Regions from separate parts of the Homo sapiens genome. Here all the other regions are linked to region 2. Evidence: promoter capture Hi-C in 16 types of primary human blood cells and fetal thymus (Javierre and others, 2016). All regions are on one chromosome and are shown on one strand. The core of a region is centred on a gene start or on the middle of the fragment in contact, and the rest is flanking DNA. Distances in the headings are between cores, read along the strand shown. Region 1 overlaps TMEM63B (transmembrane protein 63B). Region 2 holds the start of AARS2 (alanyl-tRNA synthetase 2, mitochondrial). Region 3 overlaps MRPL14 (mitochondrial ribosomal protein L14).

Region 1 (3,223 bases), core at 447-2,946, 180 kb after region 2:
AAGGTATCTGTGATTTTCTAACATCTATCTAAATCCCCCCTGCCGCCGCCACCCCCACACTCTCATTCTCTCTGTCTTAGGGCAGGGGGCGGAGCTGAGCCTGGGAAGACAGGGAGGGGTCTTAGGCCTGAGGACTCAAGGGTAAGATGAGGGGTCTCCACGTCAGGGGAGAATGGGTCAGGAGCCAGCTGCCTCATCCTGATCTTTTCTTTCTATGCCTATTAGAAAAAATGGCATGATTTCATTTGGTTAGAGTTTTGAACTCAATATAACTGGCTTAGGTTCGACGATGGGTCAGAGTAGGAAGTCAAGTAAATAGTAGGACTTCTGGGTTTGAGTTACCTGCCTGGCCCCAGCCACTCCTGCTTATTCTCATTTCTCTTCCCCATACCATAGTCCTCTCTCCAGTTATTTGCACAGGGATCGCCTGAGTGTTATGAGCACTACAACTCCCAGAGTGCCATGCTCCTGCCTCTGAAGCAGGGAAGGCTGGGAAAGCTATGCCCTACGGCAAGCTTTTCCACTGGCAAAGGAGGGGGGAGTGGGTGGGGGCCTCTTAGCCTGCCTGGGCAGCCAGGGTGCTGCCTGGTTGCCTGCAACTGGCCGGCTGCATTGATGCTCAGAGTGGATGGGGTGGGCAGGAGGAGAAAAGGGACAGCCAGCCTGAGTGCCTGGGTTCTCAAAGTGCTTGGGGACAGAGCAGAGTGGGGCCCTGGGGAGGATCCCAGGATAGCGGAGAAGTGTGGCCTCAACAGATGCAGCACTGCCCCACCCATTTTACTGGGGGGTCCCTGGGGGACCCTTCTGCTGACAACACTGAAGCTCTGCCTCGGGGGCGGGCTGTGGAGCAGGGGAGGAGGTCCTCAGGGAAGAAAAAGGAAAACCAAAGAGAACAACAAAACTAGAAACAGTGACTGCAACTTCGGGAGCAGCATCCCTTAGCCCCCAGGGGGACTCAGAGGGTTTCTCCTGCCTCTTCCTAACACTTCAACCACAGGGCAAGAGGCAGAAGCCCTCAGATGGAGGGGAGGATGGAGTTGTTTATGTGTTTCACTTGGTCCCAGGGAGTCTCTGCAAAGCCTGGATTAGGAAGACTAAAGGAGTGTGTGCTGGTGTGTTATGCCTCTTCCTTTTCCAGTCCAAGCTGCCTTTAAAAACACACTAATTTAGTAATTGTATTGGGTACCATTTGTCCAGTGCCCTCAGTTTCAAGAATAATATATTACATGATTTCATTTAATCCTCGACGATCCTGAATTGAGTGTCACTGACATTTTAGGGTGGGGGCACAGGGCCTCAGAGGTTAAGTAACTTTCCCAAGGTCACACTGCTAATAAAATGAGGGACCTAGGACTCAAACCTAGCTCACCTTCTTTCTAAAGCTAGAATGATTTTCAGGGCACCACGGTGCTTTTCTGATGTTCCTAGAACAGGACTCGGCAGACCATGGAAGCTTTATAAATGCTCATTAAATGTTCTCAGGCCAGAGAACCTGTGGGTGCTGTGGAAATGTGTGTGTCCAGGTATGTAAATGTGTGTTGATGTGTGGACCTGTGTCCAGGAGGAGCTAGGTGACTGCATGGCAGTCCACGGAAATGAAGGGAGTTGTTGGCTTCGAAGTGGGGGTGTGAACATGGGTGTGTCTGGGAGCCCGGGTATGTAAACATAAGATGCACAGAACCCTGGGGCACTATGGGAGGTTAAAGGTAGGTATAGGTATCTTGGGTTGGGGGGACTCTAACTAGTCCCCCTTTCTCAATTCTCAACTCCAATGTACTCCAGCAATCTCAACACTCTATTCCCACCCCTTGCCTGTTTCTCTCTCTGAATTCCAAGGCTCCATCAGATCAGAATGAAATGAGAACAAGCCCCAGAGTACCATTCCTATCAACTCCTGTCTTCTCCACACCAAAGAAAGGTAGAGCATTTTGGAAGCTTCTACATGAAGTGGCCCCAGCAGGGTGGACAGGATCTAGCTAGATGGTTAGTAACTGAAATCACCATGCTCCTCTGCTGTCCGCCTCCTTGGGGTCACAAAGTACTCTCCCCTCCACAACAGCATTAATCTTCCCACCTGCATGGGAGGAAGGCAGGGCACACTCAGATCACTATCCCCATTTTACAGGGAGGAAGCAGGAACCCAGTAGGGGAAGCAACTTGCACAGTGACAGGACAGGTAAGGGGTGGAGCCTGGGCTGGCAGCTCTGCCAGTTGACAGGGCTGCTCCAAGCTTTTAATTGTGGGGGTGGGGTTGCTGGGTTGAGTTTCATCAAGGGCAGCTGCTCTCAAAGCCAGCACTGGGCTGAGCAACTGAGAAGAGGGAAGACATTGAGGCAGAATACCTTGGGGATGGGAGGTGGCAGTTCTTCCACTCCACGAGGTGCCTGCACCAGCTATATCCCAGTTTCTCTAGTCTGATATTGAGGTTTTGGTTGAGGTGTGTCCAGAGAGTGATGGAGCATTTTACTTCTAGCTAACTTTTTAATTTTACCATTAAGGAGTGTGTGCATGGTGGGGGTTGGAGAGCTATAACTTATAAGCTTTTTTTTGGGGGGGTTGTTGTGTATTTTTTTGAGACGGAGTCTCGCTCTGTCACCAGAGTGGAGTGCAGTGGCGCGATCTTGGCTCACTGCAACCTCTGCCTCCTGGGTTCAAGGGATTCTCCTGCCTCAGCCTCCTGAGTAGCTGGGACTACAGACACATGCCACCACGCCCAGCTAATTTTTGTATTTTCAGTAGAGACAGGGTTTCACCATGTTGGCCAGGATGGTCTCGATCTCTTGACCTCATGATCTGCCCACCTCGGCCTCCCAAAGTGCTGGGATTACAGGAGTGATATAAGCTTTTTCAGTGGAGTTACTGGGCAAGATTTAAGTTAGGGCTTTGGATCAAAGCAAGGCCATGTGGTCTGAGGGGAGGAGGGGAAGATGGAAGCGAGCTCTGTTACTACGAAACCTGAGTCTCAGTCTTCCAATCTGTAACAAAGAGATACAAATATCCTTACTCTACCCCTACCCACTTCAGAGAGAAAGGCAAGAATATATCCACAAGTGAGCATAAAAGTAGTAGTAGGTGCCAGGCACGGTGGCTCACACCTGTAATCCCAGCATTTTGGGAGGCCGAGCTGGGCAGATCACAGGGTCAGGAGTTCGAGACCAGCCTGGCCAACACAGTGAAACCCCGTCTCTACTAAAAAAATACAAAAATTAGCTGGGTGTGGTGG
Region 2 (3,567 bases), core at 406-2,905:
TGCCAGGTTTGTATGGCAAAACACTCCCATCTCAGTTTGGGAAATAATTTCACAGTCTTGTCTAAAGATCATCAATCTCAGCTGGGCGCAGTGGTGCATGCCTGTAATCCCAGCACTTCGGAAGGCTGAGGTAGGCAGGTCAGCTGAGGTCGGGAGTTCAAGACCAGCCTGACCAACATGGAGAAACCCCATCTCTACTAAAAATACAAAATTAGCCGGGCGTGGTGATGCATGCCTGTAATCCCAGCTACTCAGGAGGCTAAGGCAGGATAATTGCTTGAACCCGGGAGACAGAGGTTGCAGAGAGCCGAGATTGTGCTATTGCACGCCAGCACAACAAGAGTGAAACCCCATCTCAAAAAAATAAAAAAGTCATTAATCACACAGAAATCCCCAGCTGGCTTTAGCTTTCTGTTCCAGAAACACTGGAAAAACCAAAACAGGCCAAACACACTTTCAAAACAACACCTTTAATCTATGTGGGCAAAGGGAGAAAAAGGGGATCATGGAATAGGAGTTATAGGTGCTGTCAGAACACAAAGTTAAGAATTTACTATCACTATAGAAATTCAAGTCCAATGTAGATTCCGCAGAGAAACTATGTATACAAAGACCCCAAATAACTTAACACACACAGAATCGTGGCTAAAAGAGACCACCCTGATGGCTAAGGCCTTCTCGGTTATTACACTGACCTCAGCTCTGGAACCTCTATTGAGTTTTAGCTTTGGCAGATTCTCTTCTGTCTTCCCAATCTGTTTAATTTCCCAAGCCAAGGGCATCATGAGAAGCCCCATGAGCACCCTGATTGCATCCACAAGGGCCTGTTGGCTTCAGGGTCACAGCTGTTACTATGGAAAGACAGAAGGGAGAGGTAGAACAGGTATATCTCTTATCCTAAACGAAAACACACAAAACCTTAGGGCATTAGAAGGCTTAGAGAGTGAAATCTCTGCAGCTATTAGCCAACAGCTTCCTCCTGCCTTGACGACCTGGATTCTCTCTGATCCCCAGGCAAATGAGAAGACCAAATGTTAGGCAATTAATAATATAGCAGATGCTGTTTGGCTTCTGTGTTCTCCTATAGACTCCTGCTTCACGGGCAAAAATGGCCGTGTCTGATGCCAAGGTCCAAGGAAACTGGCAAATGCCTAGAACAGTGCCTAGCACATACTAGGTCTTCAATAAATATTTGTTGAATACCTCTTGAATGAATGCTGATACTCCCCTGTCACTCTCTGCCTTCTTCCCTCAGCCTGGAAAAACACACACAAAACACACACACACACACACACACACACACACGAAGTTGAATCCACACCTGTTTATTGCAACCCCATCTGTAACTTTGCAAAACTAATAAGCACAACAGCAATTACTGCTAGAATACGGATTTCAGTGGGCAGGGCATTTTGTCAATTTTGTACCCTAAAAGCCCAAAACAATGCCTAGCACATAGTAGGCTCTCAATGAATATTTGCTTAATGCCGAATGAATTAAGAGCCTACTATGTGCCGGGCGCTGTGCTAGACTCTGCCAGCGACCCAATCGATCGCTTCCACCCCGGCGGCAGAGGCCGCCCCCTGAGTCCTCCTACCGCCAGGGGCCGCTGTAGGAAACGCCTGGCTTCCTTCCCTCGTCACTCTTTGACCACGTAAAGTCACTGCCCGGAGCTACGATGGCAGCGTCAGTGGCAGCTGCAGCCCGGAGGCTGCGGCGGGCCATTCGAAGGTCGCCCGCATGGCGGGGCCTCAGCCATCGGCCGCTCTCATCGGAGCCCCCTGCAGCCAAGGCCTCGGCCGTGAGGGCCGCCTTTCTGAACTTCTTTCGGGACCGCCATGGCCACCGGCTGGTGCCCTCCGCTTCCGTGCGGCCCCGCGGCGACCCCAGTTTGCTTTTTGTCAATGCGGGCATGAACCAGGTGAGGGCCGAACCATACTGATAGGGAGCGGAGTTCGTGAGTTTTCTGGTGAGAAAGACGCTGCAGGATTGGGCAAAAGAAGCGAGAGGCGGAGTTCGTAGCTTTTGGGGAAAGAGGGCGGTGCTTGGTTGGGTAAAGTGATGGGGGTACGGCGCTCAGAGTATAGGGAGGGCTTGGGGAGGGCTTGAGCTGGGAACTTCTGGATTGGGATTGAGTATTAGGTCCAGAAATGGCTGGAGTGGAATCCCGAGGGAGAAGTCTGATTTCATTTATTCGTTATTTAAATAAAGATAACGCTTTCATTAAATGTTTATTGATCACCTATTGTTTGCTGAGTACTATTCTCTAAGGTTTTGGTTTTTATCAACCACTCATCTTTTCTAGACTTCATTGTCCTCATCTGTAAAATAGGGGCGGCATAAGTTAACCTTAGAGGCCGTCTGGGCTCCCTACTAAATGAGTCTCAGTTTTGTTCCCTGAAGTTATTGGGTGTGGTTGAAGAAGCTGAGACGGAGGATGCCACCTTTCAGCGTCCCATTTCCAGCTCCCAACACATTCCTCCTTCTTTTACCTTGCCTATTTTACTAGGCAGAGGGTCTCCGGTTCATGATTTGTTTACCTCTTCTCTGCTCCCCACACACCAGAGATGGCTGTCCCGAGGCTCCCAGTTTGTCCTCATAGACCAAGATTACACTGCACTCTCAGGGGCACAGTCAGCCTTCGGTCTGAACAGCCATCCCTATCCTCACTCCCCACATTTCCCTTCTACTGAGAAATTGGATATCCCTCTCCCCCTCCCCACTCTATGTGCTTCCAGTTCAAGCCAATCTTTCTGGGCACCGTGGATCCACGAAGCGAGATGGCAGGCTTCCGACGTGTGGCCAACAGCCAGAAATGTGTGAGAGCTGGAGGACACCATAACGACCTGGAAGATGTGGGTCGAGACCTTTCCCATCATACCTTCTTTGAAATGCTTGGCAATTGGGCCTTTGGGGGTGAATATTTTAAGGTGAGTCTCTGGGGATCAGTGATCAGCCAAGAAGGGAGTCAATTTGTCCTGTTTCCATTGTACTGTCTGCTTAGGCAGGGCCTCATACCAGATGTGGAGGCAAAGTGCTAGTTGAGCCGGTGTAACAGGAATTACCTCACCTCCCTGATTGGATTGTAAGTCCCTGAAGGGCAGAGACTGTACTTTCTGCCTAATGATCACTCAAAAATTGTTGTTTGAATAAATGGTCAAACAGCAATGCTAAGGTGCTTACTGGAGTTAAAGATCACTCTAGGCTAGAGTAGGCAGAGAATTTCATGTGAAAGTGGGACTTGGTCTGGGACTTGAAAGAAGATAGGACTTAGAAGAAGGGGGAAGCTTTCTGGGCAGGAAAACACTCAGAGGCAGTAATGGTTCATGGCTTATTCTGGGAACAAGATGGCAGCAGAAATGCTTTTGTCTTAAGTCGGGAGCTAAACTCATGTGGCTTGATTACTTCAGTGGGGTCTCCCTCTCACCCGTCTTCCCCCCCCACCCCATGCTGGTTTCTGCTGCAGGAGGAGGCTTGTAACATGGCCTGGGAACTGCTGACTCAGGTCTATGGGATCCCTGAGGAAAGGCTCTGGATCTCCTACTTTGATGGTGACCCCAAGGCAGG
Region 3 (3,776 bases), core at 86-2,585, 200 kb after region 2:
GCTGCAGTTGCACCACTACATTCCAGCATGGGTGACAGAGCAAGACTTGTCTCAAGGAAAGAAAAAAAAGTATGGAGTGTCTAGGTATTCCTGGGGAGGAGTGGATTCCCCTGCCCCACCCTAACATTCTTATTAAATAAAATCTTATCTGAGGTGGTTTGAACTTGTGCATAGCAAAGCTGTGTGTAAATACTACAGTGTAGAGGCTTTTCTCGGCAGACCTCTTGAATGGGCACCTCTGCTGCCAAACGTTTGGGTGGAAAAACAGGTGTGTTTTGCAGCTGGCTACAGGCCTTTCTGAAGCATGCTCTGAAGTGATGTTCAGGTGTTTCAGGGCACTGGCAGCCTCCATATTTGTTAGTGCTAGGGAGCAACAGGGTTGAGATTCTGAAAACTGGAGTCACAAGTCTTGGGTTGGTGTTTGCTCTTTTAGCTAACTCTTCAAGTTGGTTTCCCAAAGCCCACTTTCAGCTGTAGTATGGTGTAGGTCAGTTTTCCATGTTACAGTGTTTGGGAGACTGACCCAAATAAAGACTTTGGTCTTTGACTTGGCAAGAGCAGCCTTTGGCTTTGCTTTGCTGGCCTTGAGCTGTACAGGTGTTCTGGCCTTTACATTTGGGGGAAAGGTGATGTAGTGATAGACAACTTGGGTGGCTGCTTAGATAATTTACTTTCTTTTAGGGAGTTAAAGTGCTGGTTTCAGAAGGCATATGAATATCAAAAAGGGCAATAGTGTGCAGTTTTTCCTCTATGGAGGACTCGAGAAGAAGTCCCTGGCTGGGTTTATAACCAAGGGCTCATATTTTCCTCCTGCCTGTGGAAGTGATATAATAAGGAAGGCATTCTCCGTGCTGTTGTATTTTTTTATAGCAGAAGCTGTTGTGGGCCATTCTCCCTCTCCAACCCCAGAGTTAGAATGTGAATCAGCAAAATCGGAGCTACAGCTCTGTCTAATCATCTGTGTATCCTTTAACCACTAAGATTTATATTTTGTGACTAATGATCTTGTGCTGGAAGTGCCATCTCCCACACAAGTCCCCAAAGAAAACTGGCTTTAAGGGCTCTGACTTAGAAACCAATTTTTCCCCCTCTCGTTTTTCCTGCAGGATCTATCTTGGGATCCCATGGCTTTCTTTACTGGGCTCTGGGGCCCCTTCACCTGTGTAAGCAGAGTGCTGAGCCATCACTGTTTCAGGTAACTTTTCCCATTAAGTTCTTAAAACTGTGTCTTTGTGTAAGCTTCCTATCAGGGCTGGGTATTACGGTGACTAGAACAGGAGTAAAAACTCAGGGAGGTGGGCATGGGGTTGGGGAAAGCTAAAGTGATCAGGCTGAGCTGGCCTGGTTGGTCTGGTCACAGGATGGGGGATAGGTAAAGAGGTGATGTTGCTGTTAGAAGTGTGATGGGGAATGGCATATGGCGGAAGCTTTTACTCTTCAGTCCTTGCAAGACTCTTACAGTGAATCTGACATCTCTCAACCCTATCATTCCCCTAGAGCATTAAAATCCTTTTAAAAACGGAATTTTTTTAATTACAAAAATAATACATGCTTATTACCAAGAACTTGAGCATGATAGAAGTGTGACACCCTCCCCTCCTTGTAGATGCTAAGCCAGGAGAGCACAGGAGGCACGCTTGTTGGCAGACATGCCTCCTGGCCCCGTCATGCCCTCATCCCACAGGCATTTCCTGAGCACCGCACCTGGGGTTGGCCATACAGAGATGAAAGAGAGTTGCTTTCTGTCCTGAAAGAATTCTCACTGTCAGCCACAGGAGCAAACTTGAAAATAAGTAACTCTAAGAAAATGTGATAGAATATTATAATAGAGGATTGTACAGTGCTTTGGAAGGCGTCATATAGGAGCTGCTAGTGGAGGAAGAGGAGGAGAAAGAGTGGAGGCAGTCTTCTCAAAAGGGAGATGGGGGCAGATCCTGTCTAGGCCTCCAGGGAGAATTGGGAGGCAGGGTGTGCTTGGGGAAGTGGTTCCTGGTTCTCCTGCCCAGAGTGGTAGGATGTGTAGCCTTAGAAGGTAGGTAAATTGGGACAAGGTTGTTGACAGTGTAGATGGTGGGGAGTAGCATCACTTTTATATTCTAAAGAGAGCTCTTTGTTGGCAAAGTGAAGTGCAATGGGAACCAACTAGGACACTAATGTCACAGTCTTGGTGTAGGAGAGTGAGCTGCTAAATGAAGGAAGTTGTTGGCGGGATTGGAGAGAAAGGACATAGGTGCTTAGGGGGTGATATTAACAGGACTTGGTGGCCAGTTCATGTTGGTGGAGAGAGGTTTATGGCTTGGCTTCTGGTACTGCTGGAGAAGCCATCGTCTAGATAAGTGTAGCAGCAGGCGGAGGTTTGCAAGGGGAGGCAGTGAGATGAGTTTGGGACCTACTGAGTTTGCAGTATCTATAGAGCATGTTGTAGGGAGTTGAGGAGAGTGGAAATATATAGAACTAGAATATAGAAGAGAGGCGGGGCTGGAGATGGAATTTACTAGTTGGCAGCAATGCTAATGGGTAAGATTGCCCAGAGTAGGCATAAAAAACGAGAGAAGAGGTCCTAGGATTACCCTGCGGAAACACCAGCATCAGGTGCTAGCATCAGGAAAATAGGAATCCCACTGTAATCAGCTTGCTTAATAATACCTTGTCTGCCTTCAATAAGTACTCTCTAAAATTTTTTTTTCTAATGAGAAAAAATGTATTAAAACAGAAGATTGTTACCTTGACTTATTACCAGTTTCTGGTATGTTGTGTCAGAGAATTCCCTTAGTAAACTTACCCATATCTTCTAGTTCCCAGCAACATGTAAATAAGAAAATTAGGGGACCGGGCGCGGTGGCTCACGCCTGTAATCTCAGCCCTTTGGGAGGCCGAGGCGGGCGGATCATGAGGTCAGGAGATCGAGACCATCCTGGCTAACACGGTGAAACCCTGTCTCTACTAAAAAATACAAAAAATTAGCTGGGCATGGCAGCAGGCGCATGTATTCCTAGCTACTTGGGAGGCTGAGGCAGGAGAATGGTGTGAACCCGGGAGGTGGAGCTTGCAGTGAGCTGAGATGGCGCCACCGCACTCTAGCCTGGGCGACAGAGCGAGACTCCGTCTCAAAAAAAAAGAAAATTAGGGAATGGTGTATTCTGGGGAAGCAGGTTTTTCAGGATAGGCAGTGGGTGAGGCCTAGCCCATAAGGGATTCCTTTAAGTCCTTAGAGTCCTTTTGGAAAGCAAAGGCTTTAAGTTATGGCTGCTGTGAAGTTCATTGTCACAGAAAAATTGGGTTCTCTTTAAAACCCATCCAAATTGAGACCTTGACACAACAGCAGAAGCTCTCAATTGTGAGGAAACTGTTGTGGGTACAGATAAGTCTTCACAAAGTCCTGACTTTCTGTTGCTGCTCCTGGACAGCACTCTGCTCTGTGTGTGTTGCTGACATGTACATTCTCCCTAGCCTTGACCTCTCAGAGGCCTGTGCACCCTGACCATAAGAGATACAGACTGCAGACTTTTTTTTTTCCTCCCACCAGCACCACTGGGAGTCTGAGTGCGATTCAGAAGATGACGCGGGTACGAGTGGTGGACAACAGTGCCCTGGGGAACAGCCCATACCATCGGGCTCCTCGCTGCATCCATGTCTATAAGAAGAATGGAGTGGGCAAGGTGGGCGACCAGATACTACTGGCCATCAAGGGACAGAAGAAAAAGGCGCTCATTGTGGGGCACTGCATGCCTGGCCCCCGAATGACCCCCAGATTCGACTCCAACAACGTGGTCCTC

Evidence for each region. The method cuts DNA at HindIII sites, captures the fragments that hold promoters and counts their contacts. A CHiCAGO score of 5 or more calls a contact.
Region 1: a fragment that was not itself captured here is called in contact with the fragment with the promoter of AARS2 in region 2 in 1 of 17 cell types (total B cells); the score reaches 5.2 in total B cells.
Region 3: a fragment that was not itself captured here is called in contact with the fragment with the promoter of AARS2 in region 2 in 3 of 17 cell types (total B cells, naive B cells and erythroblasts); the score reaches 7.0 in total B cells.

What each region holds. Positions count from the first base shown.
Region 1 is chr6:44,131,068-44,134,290 of GRCh38, reverse strand. All of the region lies in intron 1 of TMEM63B (transmembrane protein 63B), which reads right to left. Among named protein-coding and RNA genes, the nearest start is that of TMEM63B, 5.1 kb to the right of the region's middle. RefSeq lists enhancers at 1-160, 569-738, 161-1,126 and a silencer at 2,971-3,130. The HindIII fragment of the contact is 482 bases long and covers 1,456-1,937 here.
Region 2 is chr6:44,311,435-44,315,001 of GRCh38, reverse strand. It overlaps AARS2 (alanyl-tRNA synthetase 2, mitochondrial), which reads left to right and starts at 1,655. Exons shown (of 22, transcript NM_020745.4): 1 at 1,655-1,921; 2 at 2,739-2,930; 3 at 3,467-3,567. The coding sequence starts at 1,679. LOC124901322 (a long non-coding RNA gene) reads right to left here. Exons shown (of 3, transcript XR_007059594.1): 3 at 455-851. RefSeq lists an enhancer at 1,351-1,910. The HindIII fragment of the contact is 8,838 bases long and covers 1-3,289 here.
Region 3 is chr6:44,113,960-44,117,735 of GRCh38, reverse strand. It overlaps MRPL14 (mitochondrial ribosomal protein L14), which reads left to right. Exons shown (of 3, transcript NM_032111.4): 2 at 1,107-1,195; 3 at 3,527-3,776. The coding sequence starts at 1,125. Among named protein-coding and RNA genes, the nearest start is that of MRPL14, 12 kb to the left of the region's middle. RefSeq lists an enhancer at 361-530. The HindIII fragment of the contact is 188 bases long and covers 1,242-1,429 here.